4 separate regions of the Homo sapiens genome follow, and regions 1, 2 and 4 are each linked to region 3. The links are contacts of gene promoters, found by promoter capture Hi-C in blood cells and fetal thymus (Javierre and others, 2016). All regions are on one chromosome and are shown on one strand. Each heading gives the region's core, a stretch centred on a gene start or on the middle of the fragment in contact. The rest is flanking DNA. Distances are from core to core; before and after follow the strand shown. Region 1 overlaps CPOX (coproporphyrinogen oxidase). Region 2 overlaps CLDND1-AS1 (CLDND1 antisense RNA 1). Region 3 holds the start of DCBLD2 (discoidin, CUB and LCCL domain containing 2). Region 4 has its middle 12 kb from the start of CLDND1-AS1.

Region 1 (4,817 bases), core at 1,531-4,030, 320 kb before region 3:
AAGAAATTGTGGATTTGTATATTATACTAATGGTTAGAAGAATGTCAAGCAGCAGGTGTGGAACAGATTCTAAAAGCCTGTCTCCCTCATCAAGTCAGAAAATGGAAGCAATCTTGAACCGATCTGAGCATAGATAAATTGCTATAAAGACTTTTATTTATGAAAGCATTATTCACTTGCTATTACATAAGAGGCATTCAGCCAGTACAGCTTTGTGAACTTTGATACCTCTCAACCATCTCATAAGAAAACACATCCATGACAGAGTCAGTGTTGCAACTCTAAATGACTGCAAAGTCAATTTACTTTCCTAAGTGGCTGTATTTGCATCAACCTATTGAAACCATGATGGCTTGGATTATGACAAGTTTTATGTTCAAACGCATTTTGAAATATGAAGGGATTAACAGTAAAAGAATTATTGAAAATACTGTTTGAATGAGCTTAAGATCTAGAATAGAGCTGGCTACACTGATCGGAAGAGGAAATGCAGTTCAACTACCTTGCTCTGCTGGTATATGTTAGTGAATATCCAGTATAAAACCACTTGTAGGCCGGGCACCGTGGCTCATGCCTGTAATCCCAGCACTTTGGGAGGCCGAGGCAGGTGGATTACCTGAGGCAGGATTTCAAGACCAGCCTGGCCAACATAGTGAAACCTTGTCTCTACTAAAAAAATACAAAAAATTAGCCGGGTGTGCTGGCTCATGCCTGTAATCCCAGCACTTTGGGAGGCTGAGGTGGGTGGATCACCTGAGGTCAGGATTTCAAGACCAGCCTGGCCAACATGGTGAAACCTTGTCTCTACTAAAAAAATACAAAAAATTAGCCGGGTGTGCTGGCTCATGCCTGTAATCCCAGCACTTTGGGAGGCCGAGGCAGGTGGACCACCTGAGGTCAGGATTTCAAGACCAGCCTGGCCAACATGGTGAAACCTTGTCTCTACTAAATAAATACAAAAAAATTAGCCGGGCGTGCTGGCACATGCCTGTAATCCCAGCTACTCGGGAGGCTGAGGCAAGAGAATGGCTTGAACCCAGGAGGCAGAGGTTGTGGTGAGCCAGGATCGCACCATTGCACTCCAGCCTGGGCAACAAGAGTGAAACTCTGCCTCAAAAAAAAAAAAAAAAAAAAAAAAAGCAACTTGTAGAAACAGGTCTGTGAGTGCATTATTCTGTTTTCATACTGCTATAAAGAACTGCCCGAGACTGAATAATTTATAAAGGAAAGAGGTTTAATTGACTCATAGTTCAGCATGGCTGGGAGGCCTCAGGAAACTTACAATCATGGCAGAAGGCAAAAGGGAAGCAAGGCACCTTCTTCACAAGGCAGCAGGAAGGAGAAGTGCTGAGCAAAGAAGGGAAGAGCACCTTATAAAATTATCAGATCCTGTGAGAACTCACTCACTACCACGAGAACAGCACGGGGATGGTTTACCCTCATGACTCAATTACCTCCACCTGGTCTCTCCCTTGACACCTGGGGATTTGGGGGATTACAATTCCAGGTGAGATTTGGGTGGGGACACAAACCCTAACCATATCAGTGAGGTTTTATGTTGTACAACTTATGACTTGATTTCAGGTAACAATACAAGGGAATTTAGTCAAGCCATTTACAAATGTCTAAGCGTCACTAACTTAAATGTGCTAATTTAGGTTTATTATGAAATTGGATTGTTATGTGTTTCTTTGGGAAGAAAGATGAAATTTTAAAATGTGAGATTTCAAATACATAATTCATACTTGTGGCAGGGATAATACAATACATCCTTGAAAACAATTTCTAAATGGGCTTTTAGAGATACTGGGAACTTCTGTTTTCACAGACTAGGAATAAGACAGTTATACAGACAACTAAACAACACTAAGCTTGATACTACGATATATTGCAAAACAGTGTTGGAAAACAAAGGTTAACACATCATTCATTAGGTAGCAGGTACTATAAATAAGGAAAGATCCACCTTCAATATTTTGTAATAAGTGGGATGTGGATTGAATGACTGTAAATGGAATATGTTGACAGCAATACTAAAAGTAAAATGTGTTGAAAGGGTAGAAGAGATTGACTCCAAGGAAGGTTTCTTGAAGAAGATTTAAAATGGGCATGGAAGGATGAGCGGGCACATAAGACATTCCAAGCAGAGATAGCAGCAGCCTGAGAAAAGGCCAGAGGGGATATAATTTGGGGGAAGTTCAGGAAAAGTGGTGAGTGGTGAGTATATGGTCTGAGACTGAAGTGCACAGAGAAATGTAGAAGATAAGCCTGAAACACGAGGTAGGAGTTAAATGGTGGATTGCTTGAATGTCAGACTGACTTTAGAATTCTGTCTGGAGAGGAGATTCTTTGACTATTTCAGCAGGGTGGTGATAATGGGACCTAGGAAAATAATTCTGAAGAGAGGGAAAGGTCAGAGTGCCCAGAGGCAGGGAGAGCATTGCAAAAGTTCAGATGAGAAAGTATGTGAGACTAAAGTAGGGTGGTGGCAAAGGGCAGAGGAAGGAAACCAGGAGCCATTTCAAAGGGGGACTCAACAGGAACTAATTAGGGCAATGTGGAGGGTTGAGTCCAATCTATTTCGTGGTTTTGAGTGTGGAAGGCTGTGTGGAGGTTTTGAAGATGACTGGGATCTAATTCCCTACCACTCGAATCTGGAACTGTCCTTAATGACAGACTTGTCAGGAGTCCAGTGGAATGTGAAGAAAGTGACACTACATAACCTCAGTGGTTAGAACAGAAAACCACCATACTGCCTTTGCCTTTTTCCATGGAATTCGTGCTCTGAGCCACCCATAGGCAATGCAGCCTGCAGTCCAAGATGAGCTGAGCCTTTGAGTCATCCTCACCTATGTACAGACATGCAAGTCAAAAACCTGCAGAAGATTCCTGTCTCTAAATATTGTAACAGCAAAAGACACATGGAAGGATAAGTCATAAAGAAACATTTGGCTTTTCAAATCTTGTACTCCTTAGCGTGCAGAAGCACTTATCTCAAATACTCTGCTGACTAGGAGGGTCAGCAGAGTACAGTGATGAACAGAAAATAGTGGTTAAAAATTTGCTCCAGAGAATTGACATTTCTCCCCTCCAGACACCCTTTATTACCATGAACCTGCATGCATAAGACAGTTAGGTGTTCAGGCCATCTGGAGGTGCACTGTGGTCTTCAGGTAGACTGAATTAACACCAGTAAGAAATTGAAAGAGAAATTCACTTTGAATAACAGTAGGATAATCTGTTTTCCAGTAGTTATGCAATTCTTTTCAGACATAGTCTAATCCATAGTAGAAATACGTGGTTATTGAAGAACTGAAAACAAATGCACAGAAAAATTTTATCTTCATTTACCCGCCACAGCTTTAAACACAACTAAATAGGCTAGCATTTTAGCATTATATCATCACTATGTAGTGATTTTCTATTTTTTAAAAGCTAAACTGAGGTTGATCTGAACATTTGTTCCTATATGCCTATATTTTTCCTAGTATTAGATTTATTGAAGTATTATTCACATATACAATAAAATTCCATTTTAAGTTCAGTGAATTTTGATAAATGTATATACAGTCTAGTAACCATCACAATCAAGATGTAAAACATTTAAATCACCTCAAAATACTCTTTTGTCCCCTTTCACAAATCTGCATCCCCTAACCCCTGCCATCCATTGATCTGCTTTCTGTCATTAAAGCTTTGCTTTTTCTAGGTTTTCCTATAATGTAGTCATATAGTAAGTACTTTTATGTGTGGCTTTCACTTGGCATAATGTTTCTGATGTTCACCCATGTTACTGTCATTAGCAATAGTTATTCCTTTTCATTGCTTAGTATTTTAATATACGCATATATCACAAGTTGTTTATCTGCTCACCTGCTGTTAGCCATTTGGGTTGTTTCTAATTTTCAACTATTGAATAAAGCTGCTATGAAAATTGAGTACAAAACTTGTATTTTTCTTGAGTAAAATACCTAGGAATGAGGAACTATGGCATTAGCATAGCTGAGCCTTGAACAACACAGGTTTGAAGAGTTTTGCTTCTTCGCAGATTTTCTTCCACCTCTGCCACCCTTGAGAGAGCAAGACCTACTCTTCCTCTTACTACTCCCACTAAGCCTACCCAACATGAAAACAATGAGGATGAAGACCTTTACGATGATTCACTTCCACCTAATGAATAGCAAATATATCTTCTTTCTTACGATTTCCTTAATAACATTTTCATTTCTTTAGCTTGTAAGAAGAGTATATAATACATATAACATAAAACATGTGCGAATTGACTATGTTATTGGTCAGGCTACCAGTCAACAGGAGGCTATTAGTGATTAAGTTTTGGGAGAGTCAAAAGTTATACAAGGATTTGAAACTGCATGCAGTAAGGAGGAGTTGGGGCCCCTAGCCCTAATGTTGTTCAAGGATCAACTGTACTAAGAAATATATGCGTTTTCCTATATTATCCTGGCAACAAAAAATATAAATATTTCTTAGTCTTATTTAATAATAAAATTTATTAGCAGATCTCTTGTAAGACAGTTGAAGAATTCATACATTTTCCAGCCCCAAAAAGGCCACACAGAATCACAAACATTCAACGTGTTCCACGATAATGATATGTATGAGATGCTCTTCCTTATAAACTTTATTACGAAGCAAATAAAATAATACATTCATAATATATGAACAAAGAAATCATACATTAAGAATCCTGTTGTGATTTGCTCTTAAGAGCAAAGAGCTGCAGAATCTCTAATATAAAAAAGAGGACATTTTCAATGTGTCCATTTTCCTAAGAAACGTGTGTATGAAATGCCTCC
Region 2 (4,536 bases), core at 601-3,100, 370 kb before region 3:
ACACAAGTCGCCATGACTCAGGAGGTGGATGTTTCTGGGAAGACCTGCAAAGGAGGATGACACTTGCACCCTTCAAGTCTTCAGAATGCCTAGAAAACACTCAGGACGCATTTCACTGACCAACCTAGTGTGAACCTGGAGGTGTCTCTACGTGTTTGTGGTTTTGATCATCCTGAGAGAGGACCTGAACGGCCTCTTCACACCCAGTTTCACCAACCACACAACCGTATTTCTGGTTTATCTCTGCATCTTTGGTGTTTCCTAATTTCTATTTATGCTTGCTTGTTGTATGAGTAGGTAAAATAAATCCTTAATTAATTAATGGAGCTAAATTTCTACTTCTGCTTCTTACTCTGCTGTTTGAGAAACGGTAGCTAGCCTTATATTTTCACAAATATGAAAGATGATTTTGTGCAACCATGTAGAGATTATGGAATTTAGGTTTAAAAGCGAAGTTAAATGAGACATCTAGCTTAACTTGTTAAAGATGGTTCTAGTTTCAACCGGAAGGCATTATAGTTATAGCACATTTAAAATAAAACCGATAACTGAAAATCTAGATACTCAGATGTTGTAACTTGTTTTTATTATGTACTTATGAAACAACCCTTCACACTAGAATTTCCATCAATACTAAATTCCCCAATACATTTAATATTTTATTTTTAATTGCACATTTTTAGGAACTAAAAGTTATATCTACATTATAAGATATATTTACATTATGTTTCTTCATGTAATTTTTTTTCTGGTTGTTTCCCTTGTGAACTTTGGAGTTCAGAAAGGAAAAAAATGGGAATATGTACAATTCTGGGTTCCAACCAAAAACCATTTTTAAAAATGTACCTATCTTTGAATTTCCTTGCACCCATTCACTGTAGAACAATAACAGAATCAAGATCAAGGCAAATAGAAAAGTGCACCTAAAATGTCTCCTTTTTTTTTTTAGTAATTCCTGTAAAGTGCCACATATAGTAAAAAACTATAATTTTTAGATGCCCATGCTTCTGAAAGACAGTGAATGACCCATATGTAAATGAGAAGTTTAAGTTTAAATTATCCTTTATTTAAAAATTATCAATGGATCTTTGGTTAATGACCCCTTTCTGGACCCTAGGGTCCTCTTTAGTAAAACAGTTGTACTAATGATCATTAACACCACTTGAAGCTCTAAAATTTTACAGTTTATAATTCTACTGGAAGAAGAATAATGCAACTACAAAATACGGTTTTTCATAGATCCACAGCATTAGAGTTTCATTGCAGAATTTATATACCCTATACCTCAAGCCTAGGCAATGTACTAGAAGCAGAGATAGTGGCAAATGTAGATTGCAAAGGAAAAGGAGGAAGACTATATGCATTCTGATTAGAAAAGGTACCGAAAAACAGCCCTTGCTATTTCAAAGATTAACAGTAATTATGAAGGTAAAATTATGGAAGGAAACTTTTCTGATTTCTTCTAATTGACACTTATTAGTATAGAGTTATGAGTATGAATTGTGGGCCTCCCAAAAATAACTTTTCAAAAAAAAATCTTATTGCAGATAAGAAACTAATATAATCAATTAATTTAATTATTAATAAACTTAAGAGTCTTCATTGAGAGAGTCCTCTTCTCATCACTATCCGTCATACTTATTATGAGGCCATGATAATGATATTTTTCACATTTATTGGTTTGCAAGTTGCTTCTGATTCAACAAGATGTGCCAAGTGAAAACATAAGCATAAGTTGACAAAAAATGTGCTGCATTAACTTAGAAACATCTCTTCATATTAGTTTATGATGTGACAAAGATCCCAGGACTGAATAGAAAATGGAAGCTGTCTAAGAAGTTTGTGAAAAGTCCCTACTCTGCGGAAATAACTCAAAATTCAAGCATGATTCATCCCAGATCTATAATCATTTATTGACCATCTATTGCTTGCCAGACACTCTGCTGGATGCCAAGGACACCAACATAAATAAACATAATTTTTGTTATGCACAACCTAAATTCAGATTAAATCTGCTATTTCGAAGAAATCTAAAGTATATATTCCTAGAATAGTAACATCATTTCTATCTATATATTAGTTACCAATGGAAATAAGCCAGTAAATTAAGTGGGGGGCCCTCATAATAATGAATACGTGCCACTTAGTTTGGCATGATGTGATATTACATTATATAGTACTAAATTCTCCAAGTAACTGAGAATTTAAAAATAAAAATAAACTCCTAGAGTATAAACAGTATAATCGTTTTTCTTAAACTTAACTATTTGACTTTGCACTTTAAGAAATGGACAAGATAATGTATCTAACAAGTGAATATATAATGACACCGTTTGACTGATGAGATTAATGAGAAATAATTAGTTGCTTCATGCTCTTTGCCATTTATTCTGGGACATATCAGCAGAGCATGTGTGAATCAAAGGCTTCGTATCCAGGGATTTCTTTCTTCTGTGCTATATGCATGTAATCTGATGAGTCTCCACCTGATATGGTGGTTGACAGGGAAGAGGCCGAAGTAATATAATCATAAGTTCAATAAGCCTAATAGGGGTGGCTCTATTATTAAATCTTCAGCCTGCTTGTGAAGCAGAGGCTGCAAGCCACAGCAAATAATAATGGATTCACTCAAGCAGATGTTTCAGTAGAGAAAACCTTTCTCTGTCTTCATCTTCAACACCTGAACCAGTTCTGAGCATAACTCAGGAATTGGAACATAGAATAAGCAGGGCCTAGAAATCTAAATTAATTCCTCAAATTTTGTGATATTCAGACTAAAAGACTTCCACAAATTTCAAATTCTGAGGTAACTTTTAAGCCTTTTTTAAAAATTAGTCAAAATAATAACAAAGCATAATATATAATGTTGGTTAACTTATATAAATTAGAACAGTGATTCTAAACTTTAGTGTGTATAAGAATCACCTCGAATGCTTGTTAAATATAAAGTCCTAGACTTCTTCCCCAATGATTCTGACTGAGGACATCTAGAATAGGGTCTGGCAATCTACAGCTCAGCAGGTGTCCCTGATGACTCTAATCTGGGTAAAACGATCTGGCATCCACAGGTTCAAAACAATGGCTTTAAGAGTCCTAAAAGAACTTTAGTTGGGTAACTTCTGTATGCTAGAGGCCAGTCCAGAGATAATGAATGGACTCTGTCTTCAGGTTGCTCATTATCAGCTCCAGGGGTCAGATACAAAGACAACTAACAGTGTGAAAAGAGACAAGTACTTTGTAACCAGTATTTTTAAAGTTCTTAGGAAATACAAAGGAAGAAGCAGTTATTTCTGCCAGGAGTCATGGAGGAAAGTTGAGTGTTATTTTCTGAGAAAAAGAATTCCAAAGATGTGGCATATATGCTCTAATTCAGTTACTAATACTTATATATTATTCTTTTTTTTTTTGCCATCATTCTGTTTACATTGACTTTTCATATGTTTATGGAACCCAGTGTTGCTTTTGAGTTTTGATCTATGTGTAGGTTTCTATTTTATTGTTAGTATCTTCATGTTTATTTTAAAGAAAACTCAAAGTCCTAAAATTGACCGTTGCACCAGCTTATTTACAACCCCACTTTAGCCAGCTTTATTGTGGATTCTGTCTTGTACTAGCATTGTACTCTGAGGTACTAAAAGACTGGCACTATGCTATGTGAACGTTTTTGGCTTAAAACATTTAATTTGTTTTCTGATTTGGGTACAAAGATGCTGTTGATCCAAGGTGGGTATTCTCACATTGTAACATTCTACCATTAAATATCATACTTCAAGGTGGCCACATAATGATAAAGCAAACTATTTTATCTACAACTGCTTCAATAGTTTGCTGAGGAAATTGGATTTGAGATAGTTTACATCAGCGGTCCAGCAACTTTTGAAATTTGAAAAAAAAAATTTAAGGGATACAGAATGAATGTGCAGCCAAATATTTTCCTCTACAGTATGAGCATGAACTCTTTTTCCATTTTATAATACCTTTATGTTGAATTCTTGAGACATATCAAAGGATTAAAAAAAAGAAGAAAAACCGTAGACCCAGAATCAACCTTATTTTCTCAAATGCCAAAAGAACTTATGATTGTAGGGTACAAAATTCTAATATTAAAATTTCAGTACACTTAAAGAATATATATGATTAGTACTTTAACACACAGGCACACAGATATAGATGATATGTTTAAATATTCTATATTACCCTATTAATCTTTTTTGAGTAAATATTGTCCTACTTCAATTTTTGACAAAATGAATTATTCTATTAAATAATTAAAGCTTACCCAGTGGGAAAGATTTCTGTCCCAGAAATGTCAAAGCGGTTAATTAGTTTCTCTGATCTGTAGTCTATATTTAGTAAAGAATATGCCCTCCATGAAATTAAATGAATTGCGCACAGCAGCCAGGGACACAGGAGAAGGCAGGCTCAGGCCCACAAATCAACTCCAGAGTGACTTCTGGGACTGTCCCAGGTCAGAGGAGCCTTTATCCTTCCCTGACCTCAGCTTACTTGCCTAAGACTCAGGTGACACTAGACCAT
Region 3 (4,724 bases), core at 837-3,336:
TCTATACTGTTCCAAGATTTTTTTTAATAACATGATACAAACACTATCAGATCCAGAAACAAGCAAAGCAGAGTACTCTGCCTATGGAGTAATATGCCCTCCTGCATCAAGGTACCTTATATTCTTTGTGTCTCAATGTCCTTACGTTTGAACTGGGATAACAATAACTATCTCAGCTGATTGTAGTGAAGATTCAAGGAGTTAATAAACCCAAACCACTTAGTCCAGTTGTTCCAGCCACAAAGTAAGCCCTAAGTGTTAGCCATATATAAGCCTGTTTTCCCCCCTACCAGGAGGGAAATACATCTCTACAGTGGAAAGAAGGATTTCACACTTTAATATATTAAATGATGATGATGTTCAGTAATTTTAGAAGACGATCTAACTAAAACCTAAATGCTAAGCATCTAAATTTTGAGTTACTCTATATAGAAACGTGTCTAGATGTAAGGGGTCAGTTTGCCAAATACATTTTTTCCTTATAGTTACAGAGATTATATTTCCACATGCCTGTCAAGGTTCGGCATCTTCTTAATGACAGGCCATGATTCCATACTTCACTGAAAACCATGAGAGCAACATAAAGCTGGGCTTAAAGGCAGAGAACAATTTTCTTTTTAAAAAACTCTCTTCCTAGCAATAAGTAACAATCCAATCCTTATCCTTCCCACTGCAATAAAATGGAAAATGCAATGGAAATATCTTTTCAAAAACTGATGCCAAACTGATTCAAAAAGTGTGGTACACTACGGGAAAACAGTACTAAAGGGGAAAAGAAATCACCCTGCATTCTCCTTCCATTATGATAAGTATTTAATAAACAGTTTTGCCTGTTTCTGGAACAGGTTTTTCAAGGATTGTAGGTGGAAAAAAAAAAAAGTTTTGTCACTTTCTGGAAAGGCTTACCTTTTTAATGTGGAGAGCTTCACTTGGGCAAATTAGCATAGCGTTGGGTCAGACCCAGTGTTTGACCAAGGCAGTCTAGACCACCAGCCTCAATGATGGATTGTAAAGAACATGTTCTGAATCCAAGACTCAGAGATAAGCAGAAACTATTCCATTCGCTTCAGAACCCGGGCTCTTTCACAAAGGATCATAATTACCACCACTTACCTTTAATAGGCTTAAGATGCTATTTAATTAACCTGCCTTCCTACAGTGTCCATCCATCCGTGCAGCTTAACTTTAGGGGTCATTACCTCCAAAGGTTCTTTTTCCTCCCCAAAATTTTCCCCAGAAGGACCTAATATCAACGAGGCTTTCATAGCAGGGTCTCACGTCCCCCTTTCAGAAAAATAAATGGCCTTGCCAAAAAGTAAAGCCGCGCCAACTTGGGGGACAGACGGGCAAGACCTTGCCTTTGCAACTCAACCCCGTGAGTACCCAGCCAGGTCCGGCCACGCACGAAAGCGCACCGCGCCTCCCTGCAGCGTCTGCAGATTTGTTCAGGGGCCAAGAGACCCGCAGCCCCGACGGAGGTTCCCCCGCCGCTCACTCCCCTGGGACCACTCACCTTGCTGGGCTCCAGCGTCCTCGAGCAGCAGGAGCAGGACAAGTAAGAGCAGGAGGAACAGAGGCATGGAGAAGGAGGAGGAGTTGGAGCAGGGAGGGAGGGAGCGGGAGAGGGGGAGCGCGGCCCAGGCGGGGGCGGCGGCCGCGGCCCGGACTTGGGGACACTGCGGGCAGCGCCTGGCTCTCACCACCGCCCGGCTCGCCATCGCGGCGGCCGGCAGTCTGCCTGCATAGTGCGGGTGCCTCGGCAGCCCCGCGCGCCTCTGGCCGCGGCACCCGACCAGGAGACGGCGGCAGCGGCGGGAGAACAAGAGGCAGCCCTCGCCTCACCCCGCGCCGGGACCCTTCCGCCCCTCACCCCGCTTTCACCTACTCCTCCTTCGTCCCTTCCCTCCGCTCCCCGCGCCGAGACCCCAGGCCGGAGCGCAGGGGAGGGGAGGGAAGGAAGCGGAGTCCTCGAGCCGCGGAGGACGGCCGCGGCGGAGCTAAGGAACGTGCCTCCCGCGCCGCGCTCCTCACCAGGGTCGCCGCTCGCCGCGCTCACCCGCGGCTCCGGCTAGCTGGCAGGCAGGCCCGCAGCCAGCTCCCTCGCGCTCCCTCTCGCGCGCGCCGGCCACGCCCCCTAGGCACCGCGGCCAATCCTCGGCCAGCTCTGGTCCGTCTCCTTCCGCGAAACCCAATCAGCATGCTCGCTCCTCGCTCGACCCGCTAGTTCTCCGGCCCATTCCTCGAGCTCCACCGCCCCTTACCTCCCTCTTCCAATCCCCTTCGGCCTTTGGAGGCGTCCCACCCGCCTCCTCCAATCCAGGTCCCGCCCTCCAGCTTCGGATCCCCGCGGCCCCCGCCCGGCCCGGGCGCCTGTTATTGTTGGGCCCTCAGCCCAAACTGATCCCGCAGAGGCGGCAGCCAGCTCGTCAGTGACTTCCGGGACGTCCCCCATCCCGCGCTCCCTGCTCCTCAGGCCCAGCTTGCTCCTTGCTCCTTTCTCCTCGCTCCTCCGACGCACATCAGACCACTGGAAGGGGGTGGGAAACCTGGATCCTGGGTTGTTTTAGCTGGGAGCTGAGTCTAAGGGACTTTTTTTTTTTTTTTAATGGCAGAGCGTGGCTTGTTTTGTTAAAACTGCCGCCAGTTGTTGCAACAGCTCCGAGTTAGAATAATAGATGCAGTGTTCAGTTTTTAATATATGTGTTCCCTGTTTTCTCTGCTCTTTTTATGGCGGGGGGTGGGGGACAAAAAAGTGTAAAACAAGATCCGTGCCGCAAAGGCAATTTAAACCTAACATCCCAACCTTCATGCAGCCATTCTACAAGGAGTTGTTGAGCACCTGCTGTCTATCTACAGAAATCTTGAAATGTGGAACAGAGATGGAAATATAGCATGCAAGTCAGAATGAAGTAAGTGCTAATTAGAGTCACAAGCAGTTTGATGGAGACTGTAAGCCTATGGAACGACAAAAAGAATTTTAGGAAAGAGGAATGCAGAGGTCTACGCAGTGATTTATTTTAGAAGAGAGTGGCCATGTAGGATGTTTTTAACAGCAGTCCCTGAAAGGACAATGGTGTCATTAGCAAATACAAAAAACTGCTAAGGTGGAACAAGTTGTGTGGGAAAGTAAGTTAATTTTGGACGTATTGAATTTGAGATGCCAACTTAGATAATAAGTGAAGCTATGTAACAGGCAGATGGATATTTTAGTCGAAAGCTCAGATTGAGAGCTTTGAAATTATGGCTCTGGGAGTCATACATAGCCATACATGTATACATATACATATGTATACATAGTCATACATAGATGTGATATTCAAAAACATGGAAGGGACTGATATCCTTCAATGAAAGTCTAAGTTGGAAAGGACTTTGGAGGTCGTATGTTTCAACTCCCCTGCATATTTCTTATACAATAATCTCTTTAACCAAATTTATTCAATTAACATTTATTAAATGCCTAAGAAACCCTATTATGCTCTAAGCCATTGTGGGCATTGGGCATAAAAAGTTTACTGAGAAGAACTTACATTCTGGAGGAGGAGGTGACATGTAAACAAACCTATTGTTATTAGTGCCCTGTTAGAGGTGTGGACTGGTGCCACAATACCACAGTGAACGGAGTTCAAAAAAACCCGTCAGTTTGAAATGCCAGTGTCTTGAATAAGAAACTAAAGTGAAAAAGGTGATCTCAGGCCAGAGGCAAAATAGGCTGGGTCACAGGCTCAATAGGGAATGGTGTTGATGGAGCTGGATTGACTACTGCTGACGTAATGGGAGGAACTGGAGACTAGTCTGGAAAAGTTAGGAGGGGCAAGATGTAAGGCAAGCTAAGAGTCAAGATTTTATTTTGTATCACTGGAAAATAACTAAAGGGTTCTAAGAAAGAATGACATTGTCAGTTTTTTTTTTGTTTTTGTTTTTGTTTTTGTTTTTTTTGAGATGGAGTTTTGCTCTTGTTGCCCAGGCTGGAGTGCAATGGCATGATCTCGGCTCACTGCAACCTCTGCCTCCCGGGTTCAAGCGATTCTCCTGCCTCAGTCTCCCTAGTAGCTGGGATTACAGGCATGTGCCACCGCACCCGGCTAATTTTGTATTTTTAGTAGAGCCGGGGTTTCTCCATTGTTGGTCAGGCTGGTCTCGAACTCCCGACCTCAGGTGATCCACCCGCCTCAGCCTCCCAAAGTGCTGGGATAACGGCGTGAGCCATCGCGCCCGGTCATTATCAGGTTTTTATTGTAAAAACCCCAATCAGCCAGTAGGGTGAGGAATACATTGGTGTAAGAGCAAGACTGGAAGCCAGGGAGAGCCAGTCTGCAGTTAAAGGGAGTGATGGTGAGTTTTTAGTGCATTAAAAGTGGGCTTGGGAAGGCGGGACCAACTAGGGGAATATTTTTAAACTTGGTGACTGATTATGTGGAGTGTAAGGAGTTGAGGAAGTCTCCAGGTTTCTGGTAGAAGGTGATGTCTTTCCCACAGTAAGGAGTACAAGAAGGAGAATTGGTTTGGTTGGATAAAGAAGTAGAAGTTAAAAATCATAAATTCAGAATTGAACCTATCAGACATGATGTGCTAATGTGGCAAGCAGTCAGTCATGAAATAAGATTTCTAGTAGTAGTGCCTGAGACAACCTATTTCATGTGGAATCACTCCTTTCATAGGACCATTGAAAGAGAAGCTTGAGGTCACAGATGTGGTGGCAGAGCAAGGTAGTGTGAATCTTA
Region 4 (5,000 bases), core at 1,858-4,357, 390 kb before region 3:
GCAGCTTTCTAATAATTTCAAGGATTATAACTCAGAAGCAACTCTCTCATTTATTGAGGGACTATTCTTTGCAAGGCAATGTGGAAGATGTTGGAGGGATACAAAGATTAAATAGGCAATAAGTTCTAGTAGGAAGGTTGATATGCACAACAATCACTGTTATACAAAAAGTAGAAAGTGGCAAAAGCAGCAAGAAGGGGGTTACTCCGAATGCCACAGGGATTCAGAAGAGCAAGACATTCGAGATGAGTCTTCAGTTATTTCAATTGGTAAAGAAGTGGTCATGATTTTTGAAACTGGAATTGCAGTGAAGTGGTATAGATCAAGATTTGAGTATGTGGAGAATAGCATTCCATAAATAAAGACAATATAAGATGAATCACAGATATAAGAAAGTCCAAACGTAACAATGACTGTGACTAAAGGAGAGGAATAGGAGAAAATGATCCAAAGATAGAGCTAGACAATGTTACAGCTTTGATGTTAGACAAAATCTAGACTTTATTCTAGATTGCTTTTGTAAGCAGTAGAGAGTTGTTGATGGTTTTGGGGTAAAAGGTTGATGCGATATTATCTATGCTTTAGCAAATTAGGCTGGCAGGATGTGTAAAATGGGTTTCAGGTAAGCTAGTTAGTGGCAAAGAGACCAGCAGAGAGTCTACTGTCATCATCCAGGAAGGAACCGGAACTAAGGTGACTAGACAGGAGAGTTTCAGTGACATAGGCATTACTGAAATAGAATCAAAAAATCTTGATAACTAATTGGATATAGAAGGCCAGGGAAAAGAAGGAGTCAAAGATGATGTCAACATTAAAAGTCTAGTTGATGGGAAAACATGTAAAACAAATGAGAATTGGTGCAGTTATGAGAAGACAAATGAGTATAAATTTAAACATATTACATTTTAGGTATCATGAAAATATTCAAATGAAGCTGCCTTGAAGGCACCTAGGAATTTGGACTTGGAGTTTAGGGAGAAGGCAGGGCTGGGGATTTGAAATCATCTGAAGATTAATAACAGTTATTGTTGATTGAAAGCTTAAATTGTACCAAACTCCATGCTAAGCACTTTACATATATTACCTTATAAGCCTCACAGTGAACGTGAAAAATAGGCATTATTATCCTACTGAGACCTAAAGAATGACAGAACTTGCCCAAAGTTTCTCAACTAGTAAAAAGAATTGGGATTGCAAATCGATCTGTTTAAATCCAGAGTAGTTCTGTGGATGTTAAAGTCAGGAATTAATTACAGAGTAGCTCTACTTGTTCACCTAGAGTAATGCCTAATGCATAGGAGGGAGTAAGAGGGAGAGGCCACAGCACTCTCCACTCAAAGGCTCAAGGCCTTTCCCTCCCTTTCCTTCCCCCAGGTATCTTATTTCAAATGCTTGGGAGTTTTAGGTGGAGGGTACAAGGCCTGGGGTAAATGGTTAAGATGACAAATTGGGTACTGCTGCTCTAAATTAGTCCTTGAGGGCTGCATTAGGGTATTCTAGAGGGACAGAACTAATAGGATAGATGTTTAAATAAAGGAGAGTTTAAGTATTGACCCACATGATCACAGGGTGAGGTCCCACAATAGGCCGTCTGCAAGCTGAGGAGCAAGGAAGGCAGTCCAAGTCCCAAAACCTTAAAAGTAGGGAAGCCAACAGTGCAGATTTCAGTCGGTGGTCAAAGGTCCAAGAGCCCCATAGCTGGAGAACTTGGAGTCCAATGTTCAAGGGCAGGAAGCACCCAACACAGGAGAAAGAGGGAAGCCAGAAGACTCAGTCAGTCTAGTCTTTCCACATTCTTCTGCTTGCTTTTTATTCTGGCTGTCCTGGTAGTTGATTCAATTGTGCCCACCCAGACTGAGGGTGGATGTGCCTCTCCCAGTCCACTGGCTCCAATGTTAATATCCTTTGGCAATACCCTCAAAGACACACCCAAGAACAATACTTTGCATCCTTCAATTCAATCAAGTTGACACTTAATATTAACCATTACAAGGGTGTTTTAGCATCAAGTGTTGGAACTCTCTCTAGAATTTTTTAGATAATGTCTTATCTTTCATATCTTTGAATCCTCCTTTGAGTCCATGGTAACAAGTGCCACTTGGCATCTTGTTAAGTGCTCATGAATAATATCCACCATTACTCAGCAGTGGAACCATGGTGTGGATCCCTGAAATCTACTTCCACCCTCAGAACTTAAAATGAACCATCCAAATCTAATTGGATTGCATGTTGTAGAGGCTGATTTCAGGAGCCTGCAAACAAGCTGCAGGAATCCAAGTTCTTCCACTTCCCTCAATGGACCTGAGTCCAATTTTAAACAACATAAAGACAGTGCTATGTTTTGAAAGTTTGCCCCTTCCAAAACACATGTCAAAATTCAATTGCCATTGTAACACTATTAGGAGGTGGGACCTTTGAGAGGTGATTAGGCCATGAGGGCTCCACCCTCATGGGTGGAATTGGTACAGTTTGGCCCACTCTCACCCTCTTTGCCCTTCTACTCTTCTCTCATGTGAGGAACAGTTTTCCTCTCCTCTGAAGCATGAAGCATGCAAAGTGTTGTCTTGGAATCAGAATTGCCAAATCTGCTGGCATCTTGGACTTTTCAGCCTCCAGAACCATTAAAAATAAATTTCTATTATTTATAAATTACTCAGTCTCAGGTATTCTGTTATAGAATCACAAATGGACTAATAGAAAGGTTTTTGATGCATTTATCTCGATTTACCAATAGCACAATCATTGAAAGGCCAAAAGTTCCACCCCACTGCTGTCCTACTTGAAAAAAAGGATTAAAATGTGAGTTTTAAAAGCAAAAATTCTTCCACCTTGAGAGGCTTGTATGGCTAAAAAGCCCATGTAATGAAGCCCTTTCTGTTTTGAAACAAACCTTTACTGGAAACAGAAGACTTCCCCAATAATGTAACACCAGCCCCAGTTCTAATCCCCATTGGAGTGTAGCCTTGTGGTAAACCCCAACAGCTCAGAGTCCCGCATGCCCTAGAGCTGGACCACACAGGGCAAGCAAAGGCTGCCTCCTTCCCGTGCACTGCATTAATGTCCAAATAATAGTACCAAACACTTTTTGAGCTCTTATGTTTTCAAAGGTGTTCTAAAAACTTGCACGTATACCTTCTTATTTAACCATCACAAAAACCTATTGAGGCAGATAATATCCCATTTTATAGATAATGCTATTATATGTTCATCCTCAGAATTTCTAGCTTGGGTAGAAGTTAACATCAATCACTCATGCATGCCTCCTTCCTTCCTAGTTCTAACCAAGAGTATGAACACAATGAACTGATAAGCAGACAGGGATAAGAATATTCACTTTCTTTATAGAGGCCTAATGACCTCAAATTACAGGGTCCCTGAAAGTACCGGATTAGAGAAAATAATTTGGAATTGAAGCCAAAACAAACAAGGCTTCCTATTACATCCTGCCAAATCTGAACCTGAGAACCAGGGGTGCACTGGATCTGCAGAGCAGACTCTTCATACGCATCTCCAACTATCAGAGGTGGGATGGATTGGGACCTGTCACAAAGAGCCAGTCAACAGAAGAGTGTGGAAAGCACAGTAGAGAAATGGCTTTTAGAAGGCAGACACCAAGCCAGGTCTGTTTACTCCACAGCCCACTCTTTCATAATCTGCCTAGGAGAGAGAGAATCCTATTTCTTGCGTTTAAACATAGCTTTCAAATATAACTGCCCATTGGAATCACTTGGAAAGGTTTTAAAAATTTCAATGACCCGACCATAGCCCAGGCCAACTAAATCAGATTCTCTGGAATGAAAACATTTAAGTTCTCCAGGAAATTCCAATGTGCAGCCTAGGCTAAGAGCCACCACTTTATAGGCTTGGCAACCCCTCACAATGCAGCCAGTCATAACTAGCAGTTTTTGAGCGACTACTTTATGCTAAGCAATTTACATAATCCTCATCACAACTCTAAGAGACATATGATAATCAAAGCATTTCACAGATGGGAAAAGCGGTGTTTGGAAAAAGGCTAAGAGACAAAAGATAGACCTGGGATTACAAAGCTCGCATTCTGTCTCCCAAGCTAAATACTTAACCACCATATACCATGCTGCTCCTTGTGGATGCCCTGATTCCAGCAATCTCTCCAACCAGATAATACATTCTTCTTTTATATAGAGAAGCAAATAAGGCTGGGAGATACTACAAGAGTTGACTCCAGTATTCCCTTCTAAAAGAGAGCATAAACTCCTTCCATGGAAGTTAAGCAGGAAGAATAAAGGTTTCCAACAACTAACATTTGTAGAGACTTGGAAAATGTGTGGCAGGGTGTTAAAAGATCAATAATTAGAGATGCTTAGAATTATAAAGCAGTTGAAGTCAAACAGCATACTTTTTTATAGAATCAACTTAGTAGTTCTGAACAGCCATCCTTGATATCTTAAGATTAAGAAAACTGGACAGCACAGTCTATGAAGATAGGGCTAAGGATTGCGAAGGGAGGTGTCATAGGAAATTATGGGAGCAAGAGAACCAAAGATGTTTGTGAACATACAATGACAATACAAGCTAAGGGGGGAAAGAAACGAACAAAATGCGGAAGACTGGGAGGGGCTGAAAGGCTGCAGGGCAGGTGAGGTAAAGCTCACATACTGAGACACTAACACTGGACCAGTAAAGATGACACATTACTTAGTAACTCAGATATTTTAAAAGGTGTACGGCAGAAAGAAAATTCTCATTTCACATTTCTAAACCTTTGCAAATATACAAAGTAATATAAATTGGATCTTGCTTTTATAGAAGTTTGCTGAAAGTATGTAAATGTTTATATGTCAAATAATGTATATTTGTATACACGTAATGCTAGTAATAGAAATTCTGGCACTGAAGAGAATGTAATCACTCTATGGTAACTTCTTCTATAGGGCAAATAATTGTTACTCTTTTTACAATTGAGCATTTTCACATCATGAATTTGCAGGATGATGGCATGTAATTTGGCCCCAGGGAAA

The links. Contacts are between HindIII fragments. The CHiCAGO score rates a contact against its expected background, and 5 or more counts as called.
Region 1: a contact is called between a fragment that was not itself captured here and the fragment with the promoter of DCBLD2 in region 3, in 2 of 17 cell types (monocytes and fetal thymus). The highest score is 5.6, in monocytes.
Region 2: a contact is called between a fragment that was not itself captured here and the fragment with the promoter of DCBLD2 in region 3, in 2 of 17 cell types (fetal thymus and monocytes). The highest score is 9.3, in fetal thymus.
Region 4: a fragment that was not itself captured here is called in contact with the fragment with the promoter of DCBLD2 in region 3 in 1 of 17 cell types (monocytes); the score reaches 5.1 in monocytes.

Annotation. Positions count from the first base shown.
Region 1 is chr3:98,574,959-98,579,775 of GRCh38, forward strand. It overlaps CPOX (coproporphyrinogen oxidase), which reads right to left. Exons shown (of 7, transcript NM_000097.7): 7 at 4,488-4,817. Among named protein-coding and RNA genes, the nearest start is that of CPOX, 16 kb to the right of the region's middle. The HindIII fragment of the contact is 1,823 bases long and covers 1,870-3,692 here.
Region 2 is chr3:98,525,562-98,530,097 of GRCh38, forward strand. It overlaps CLDND1-AS1 (CLDND1 antisense RNA 1), which reads left to right. Exons shown (of 2, transcript NR_198998.1): 2 at 1-326. Among named protein-coding and RNA genes, the nearest start is that of GPR15, 4.1 kb to the right of the region's middle. RefSeq lists an enhancer at 2,804-3,347. The HindIII fragment of the contact is 4,844 bases long and covers 1-4,272 here.
Region 3 is chr3:98,899,609-98,904,332 of GRCh38, forward strand. DCBLD2 (discoidin, CUB and LCCL domain containing 2) reads right to left here and starts at 2,087. Exons shown (of 16, transcript NM_080927.4): 1 at 1,514-2,087. The coding sequence starts at 1,718. LOC105374002 (a long non-coding RNA gene) reads left to right here and starts at 2,406. Exons shown (of 2, transcript NR_189121.1): 1 at 2,406-2,909. RefSeq lists enhancers at 986-1,702, 1,703-2,418 and silencers at 1,526-2,215, 2,356-2,405. The HindIII fragment of the contact is 5,361 bases long and covers 1-4,676 here.
Region 4 is chr3:98,508,138-98,513,137 of GRCh38, forward strand. No RefSeq gene overlaps it. Among named protein-coding and RNA genes, the nearest start is that of CLDND1-AS1, 12 kb to the right of the region's middle. The HindIII fragment of the contact is 4,140 bases long and covers 1,038-5,000 here.